Linked DNA regions of Homo sapiens: region 2 is linked to region 1. Evidence: promoter capture Hi-C in human tissues and cell types (Jung and others, 2019). All regions are on one chromosome and are shown on one strand. The core of a region is centred on a gene start or on the middle of the fragment in contact, and the rest is flanking DNA. Distances in the headings are between cores, read along the strand shown.

Region 1 (3,454 bases), core at 718-3,217:
ACCTGTAGTCCCAACTACTTGGGGGCCTGAGGCACAAAAGTCGCTTGAACCTGGGAGGCGGATGCTGTAGTGAGCCGAGATCATGCCACTGCACTGCAGTCTGGGCGACAAAGTGAGACTTCATCTCAAAAAATAATAAAATAATATAAAAAATAAATAAAATAAAATATATGTACATATACAAAACTCCATTTAATAATGGGCAAGCTACTGAGGAGGATGAAAGATAAAATCATTGTTGTTTAATTAAATGTAACACACAAAGAAATATCAAATTTGGCCGGGCGCGGTGGCTCATGCCTGTAATCCCAGCACTCTGGGAGGCCGAGGCGGGCGGATCACTAGCTCAGGAGATCGAGACCATCCTGGCTAACATGGTGAAACCCCGTCTCTACTAAAAATACAAAAAAAAAAAATTAGCCGGGCGTGGTGGCGGGCGCCTGTAGTCCCAGCTACTCGGAAGACTGAGGCAGGAGAATGGCGTGAACCCGGGAGGCAGAGCTTGCAGTGAGCCGATATCACGCCACTGCACTCCAGCCTGGGTGACAGAGTAAGATTCCGTCTCAAAAGAAAAAAATAAATATCAAAAGTGACAGGGAGAGCCTAAAAAGAGAGCAGCTTTTGGTCCACTTAATAGTTTGGATGAGGACACTTTTAAATGGATTCTGCCTGGTACTGTAAATGCCCAAGAACAAAGCATTGACTTTTGGGCAGAGTTCTAGCAAATCAGCAACTGTGGAGTGTCAGATTCGCAATGACTGCTCTTGTGTAATACGTCAAAAACAAGTCAGTGAGCTGAAATGCAGTACCTTTACTATTTTTAAGTTGACGTTAAAGGATGTGGGAAAAAAATAGACCAATGGGTACCCATCAAGAATAATTTGAATAAACAATCGAATATCATTTTAAACTATGGTAGTGGTCAGTTTCAAGAGCTGAATGTGATTTCATATTATCGTATCCTTTTTTCAACTTTCTCTTCGGAAATTTTGTGTATGCTCTTGATTTTTTTTAAATAGGTAAGTGTATGTTCTTGCGTTAATTTGTTTCAATTACATACATTAAATTGCTCAAACACTGCTGCGTGCACTGTTTTTACCTGATAGTGGTTTTCCTTTGGATGACAGAAAACGTTAATGCTTGGTAGGTTTAAAACATTTTTAAAAAATGAGCTCTTCCTTATTTACAAGAATCACCCACCCAATTAATAAATGCTTATTTCTGGGTTCCACTCTCAGAGATTTTTATGTTTATGTATATTTTTATATTTTTTAGTGTTTTATTTTATATGTTATATTTTTATATGTTTTATGTTCATATATATTTTTACGTTAAAAAAACATATATTTTTATGTTTTTTAATCTTTGGAGTTGGAAACCTACGTTTTCAGCCAGTACCCAAAGTGATTGTGAGGCCTGGTGGCCCAAAGACCATACCTTGAGAACGACTCGACCCAATGCTATTTTCATGTTTTGCAGCTTTCAAAATATTAACTTCAGAAATCTAAGGAGGGTGGGCAACTCGGGTGGCTGTCAGAAGACCCGAGAGTGAGCCGCTCACGCTGCGCCCCATTGCACAACTTTCCTTGACTTTGCAGATCTCTCCCTGAGGAGGAAATCAGTTCATTTTCACCGAGCAATTAACTACCTCCCAACCAGTTTCGTCTATGTCCCTCAGGATGACCCCCAAAAGTCACCAGCTCATCGCCGCTGCGAAAGATAAAGCACTGTTTGCCCTGCGTGCCCTCGCAAGGCCGCGGGAACCTGGGCTCGCTTCCCGCCACCCGGGCTCCTCCTCCTCTCGCCCTCTCCGGTCGGGTCCTCCGGGAGGCGCCCCGCGCGGCAGGTATTGGCGCCAACCGGGTGGCGGCGCTGTCCGCCCTGCGCGCGGCCGCCTCGGGCCCGAGGGAGGCGGATGCACGGCCGGCGGAGGAAGGGGAGGGAGCGAGGAGCGCGCGCTGCTCTCGCGTGCTCTCGCGCCGCTCGCGTGACCGGCCGGTGTGTGCGCGAGGCCCCGGCTCCCGGGGCACGGACGGCCGGGCGCGCGCCTCTGCGAGGGGCGTCCGGGTCCGAGTCGGCGGTCCGGGCCGGCGCGAGGTGCGTGCGGGCGGGCCGCGGGGGTCCCGGACGGACACAAGCGCACACACTCCCGGAGGAGCCTTCGAGGCTGCTCTTCCTCGGCCAGACGGAGAGCGGCACTGTCTCCCCGCCCAGCGCTCACTCGCCCCGCGTCTCCCCCCGCGGCGGCTGCTCCTCCTCGGCACCGCCAGCCCCAGCGCCGCTCCCGGGCGGGCGGGCGGCGGCGGCGGCGGCGGCGGGACCCGCGGAGCCGCTTTGTGTGCAGCCCGACTAGGGGCGGCGGCGCAACCACCTGACAGAGGCCCGGGCGCTCGATGCACCTTCCGCCCGCATGAGGAGGAGGTAAAGGCGGCGGCGGCTCGGCTCCCGCCCTAGGCTGCTGGAGGGAGGGGACGGAAGGGGAGACTGGAGGGGGGGGCCGCGGGTCCGAGGCCCGGTGGGGCCGCCCGAGGGTGCCGGGAAGGCCTCGGCGGTGCCGGAGGCGCCAAGCGGCCGGGGGCCAGAGAAGCAGCTGGGGTCCCTCAGCCGAAGTTGAAGGAACAAAATGTGAAGTGCGGAGGCGCGTCAGCCGCTTCCTGGCGTGGGGCTGAGGGTGGAGGGCGGCTTGTTTTCCCCTCCCGCGGGGGTGAGGGAGCGGAACAGGGGAGGGGTGGCAGCGCGGCGGGGACTACCCCGGGTCCGAGGCTCGGCTGGGCAAGGGCGTTTTGTTCCCGGCAGCCGCCGCTGCGCGTGGGTCCGCTGGGTCCCTAGTTTTGCGGCCTAAGCCGAGCCCTATAGGCCTCGGGTCTGGTTTCCCGGAGGGGACTGGCCGGGCGGGACTGGGTGCTTCCCCACCGCCGAGCGGGGGCCTTGGGGTCCTTGCCGGCCTCCCGGGGCCGCCAAACTTCGGACCCTGGTGCTCGGGGGTGGATTTCATTGTGAAAGGCGGAATGGGAAACTCCTGGCGCTGTTCGGCGGCCACGGCGGCTGGTGCGGAGGAGCCCCGTGAGCCTGGGGCTGGCAGGGCCGGGTTGGCGGGGCCGGCGGGGTTCGATCCCTGGGAAAGAGCGGGTGGCGAGGCCGCTGCCGGGTCCCCGGCCTCTGGGGAGACAGGGCCTTTTCCAGATTAGAGAGATTTGAAATGAAAAAAGAGGTTACAAAGTCGCCCCTTTCCCGCTGAACTTTGGTTTTCTGACCGATAGAGGCCGGTAGAGGACTGTGAACCAAAAGTTGTCCCCCAGGATGGACTTCACCGCGCAGCCCAAGCCTGCCACTGCCCTCTGTGGCGTCGTGAGTGCCGACGGGAAGATCGCTTACCCTCCGGGGGTAAAAGAGATCACCGACAAGATCACCACGGACGAGATGATCAAACGCCTGAAGGTAAGTGTCTGGACGG
Region 2 (3,669 bases), core at 921-3,420, 560 kb after region 1:
ATCATTTGTGTGTGGTAATAAAAAAATATAAAAAGCGTTGACATATGCTTTATTTTATGTAAATATACTTTATTGACTATTGTATTTTAAGGCCTATTTAAATTTAAAACATTAATAGAATAAATATTTTAAATGCTAATAACACATGCACATAAATTTGGGCATTTTACCATCTAATAAATAATGCACATTATTTAAATTATTTTCATTATGTAATAAGGACAAGCATTTTATGACTTAAATATTTTTGAAATTTTATTTATTTTTTATTTTTTTAGAGATGCAGTCTCCCTCTATCACCCAAGCTGGAGTGCAGAGGCATGATCACAGCTCACTGCAGCCTCGAACTCCTGAGCTCAAGCAACCCTCCTGTGTCGACCTCCCAAAGTGTTGAGAATACAGGCATGAGCCACTTCACCTGGCCTCAAAATATATTTCTAACAGAAAAATATTTTAGTAAACAATAGTACATAATGATACTTAGATATGTATAGATATGTATACAAACAGAAAACCAGAAAAATAGAACATAAAGTGACACATAAAAAACCAAACTTTGGACAGGCGCAGTGGCTCACGCCTGTAATCTCAACACTTTGAGAGGCCGAGGCGGGTCTATCACCCAAGGCCCAGAGTTCGAGACCAGCCTGGCCAACATGGTGAAACCCCGTCTCTACTAAAAATACAAAAATTAGCCGTGAGTGGTGGCACATTCCTGTAATCCCAGCTACTTGGGAGGCTGAGGCAGGAGAATCACTCCTTCTCAAAAAACAAACCAAAAAACCCAACCCCCACCAAACTTTGTGAAACACAATGTTATAGCATCAAAAATGGATAAACGTTGCTTATATAACATTTTGTTTGAATAGTTGAATTTTGCTTTTTTTTTTTTTTTTTTTCCTGAGACAGAGTCTTGCTCTGTTACCCAGGCTAGAGTGCAGTGGCATGATCTTGGCTCACTGCAACCTCCGCCTCCCGGGTTCAAGCAATTCTCCTGCCTCAGCCTCCCGAGTAGCTGGGATTACAGGCACCCACCATCGCGCCTGGCTAATTTTTGTATTTTTAGTAGAGATGGGGTTTCACCATGTTGGCCAGGCTGGTCTCGAACTCCTGACCTCGTGATGTGCCCACCTTGGCCTCTCAAAGTGTTGGGATTACAGGTGTGAGCCACCACACCTGGCCGAATTTTGCTTTTTAAAAAAGGAAAAGCTTTTTTAAAAAGTAAGATTAGTGTTTTGTTCATGAATGGTTAATATAAGAAAATATTAATGGTTAAGAAATAACTAATGCTTAATATAAGAAAAATGGTTTGGGGCAGCTCTTTCAAGTATTTCACAAATAAGGCAAAGCCAGGAGGGACAGTCTTTATTCTCGATATGTGAAAAGCCAAACTAGATGTAATCATGTTGATGATTAAATATTATTTCCTCTTTTAACATTTTAAAAGCACTGTTTTTTTTTTTTTTCTAAAAACAGTATAGGCTGTACATTAATTTTGAGTTTCTGTATGCAACTTACAGATCTGGTGAAGATCTCCTTGAGGCAATTGTGTAAAATAATCATTTTTATGCCCCTCATACTGGTTACATGTCAATGTCCTTGTTCTTTGTGCTTCATGTCTTTAACCAGTTGTCTACTATAGAATAAGTCAGTGGTTTTCAAAGGTGGAGTGAGGGGGAGGAATTTTGACTTCCTGGGGACATTTGGCAAGGTCTGGAGACATTTTTGATTGTCACAACACTGAAAATGGGGGAGCTACTGTCATCTAGTGAGTAGAGTTTAGATGCTGCTGAACTCCTCCATTGCACAGGACAGCCTACCACAGCAAAGAATTATCTGACCCCAAATGTCAATAGTGACCAGGTTTGAGAAATCTTTGTACTATGTAAACAGTATTTATCTATGAAAGATAACATTTTCCCCCTAACCCAATGTGACTAGTAAAAGACAAAGATTTTTAAAGTCATGAAATGGTCAAAACTGTCATGAAAGCTGGCAGTATTTTTTGTTTTATTTTATTTTATTTTATTTATTTTTTTTTTTTCCTGAGACAGGTTTTTGCTGTGTCACCCAGGCTGGAGTGCAGTGGCACAATCATAGCTCCTTGCAGCCTTGACCTCCCGGGCTTAAGTGATCTTCCCACCTCATCCTCCCAAGTAGCTGGGACTACAGGTATGTGCCACCACTCTCAGCTGATTTTTTATTTTTTGTAGAGACAAGGTTTGTCTTGTCTCTACAAAACTATGTTGCTCAGGTTAGTCTTGAACTCCTGGGCTCAAGGGATCTTCTTCCCTCGGTTTCCCAAAGTGCTAGGATTACAGGCAGGAGCAACTCTGCCCCGCTTTGGCAATATTTAGTGGAGTAATAAACAGAATGAGTTATTGTCTCATGAGCAAATTCACCTTCCCAAACCTCTGTGCATGTTTACTCAGAGACTCTCAAATGTTCCATTCTAAAAGGGAAATGTACAAATTTAAATTATTACATGTATTTATTGATTTAAAAATAGAATGAAAACAGACATTACTGCCTTTACTAATGTGAACCCTTGGGGCTTTGCTGCATAGGCCAAATACATTTCTGGGATTGAAAAAACTAAACTTGGGAGAGAGAAATCTTTCCTCTACAAAGGAGAAGATGACACAACCCGAGGAAGAAATGGACGTGAGAGGCTGAAATAAAGGGCCTTCCTGGTCACTGAGCCCATTCATCCCTGTGGTCTGGTTACTGAGCCAGGAAATTGCCCCTTTTTGCTTTAGCCAATTTGAATTAGATTTCTGTAACTTGCCACCAAAAAAGTCCTGACTAATATACCACCCGATTAATATCAGTAATATTTCGACAGTTTGCAATAATGCAATGAAATATGAAGATTGAACTTGAGATTAGTTTTTGATTACAGTATTTAAGACAGAAATCCTAAACCATTCATTTAACCAACATTTACACCTAATATGTACAAATATTCTGTGCTAGGTGCTGAGAACATAAAGGCAAATTTAAAAATTGTCTCTCCTTTGAAAGAACTCTCAGTCTAGCTGGGGAGATGGAAAAGTATCATGTCGTATGAGTGCTATGCTAGAAACAAGCCCATCTTATGGGAGCCAGCAGAAGGGGCACTTAAATCCTAAAGGGGCAAGAATGACTTGGAGGCAGTGACCATCACGAAGTAAAGAGGGCATTTGAGCTAGACAGAGTGGGATAGTTGAGGCTGGGTGGAGAGAAATAGTAAGGAGAGACTGAGACACTGGCAGTAGTGTGTTATGATCGAATATGAAGTGCAAGAGGATGGGAGAGTGGCCAGGAAGGAGGCTGGGAACTGTATCTCAAAGGTCTTGGTGAAAAATTGAGACTTTATCCCCAAAGCTTGGGGGGGCCACTAATGGATTTTACACAGGGGAGCAATATCACGCATATTCAAAATATCACACTGTAAGATGAGGATAATAGTTACCTGGCAAGATTGTTGTAAAGAGTATAGATAATATTTATTTATTTATGTCCTTTTGGAATGTAAATGTTCATAATATTTCTCTTTTTAAAAATATTTTTAAAATTTCAATAGTTTTGGGGTACAAGTGGTTTTTGGTTACACGGATGAATTGTATAACGGTGAAGTCTGAGATTTTAGTGTACTCATCACCAGAGGAGTATACATTGTATCCAATA

What was found. The method cuts DNA at HindIII sites, captures the fragments that hold promoters and counts their contacts. A contact is called where the count stands out against the background at its distance.
Region 2: a contact is called between a fragment that was not itself captured here and the fragment with the promoter of PDS5A in region 1, in 1 of the 25 tissues and cell types used here (dorsolateral prefrontal cortex).

What each region holds. Positions count from the first base shown.
Region 1 is chr4:39,976,424-39,979,877 of GRCh38, reverse strand. PDS5A (PDS5 cohesin associated factor A) reads left to right here and starts at 1,967. Exons shown (of 33, transcript NM_001100399.2): 1 at 1,967-2,421; 2 at 3,261-3,438. The coding sequence starts at 3,301. RefSeq lists silencers at 1,743-2,382, 2,433-3,182 and an enhancer at 2,720-3,454. The HindIII fragment of the contact is 8,894 bases long and covers 1-3,454 here.
Region 2 is chr4:39,412,102-39,415,770 of GRCh38, reverse strand. All of the region lies in intron 1 of KLB (klotho beta), which reads right to left. Among named protein-coding and RNA genes, the nearest start is that of MIR5591, 2.0 kb to the right of the region's middle. The HindIII fragment of the contact is 4,557 bases long and covers 1-3,669 here.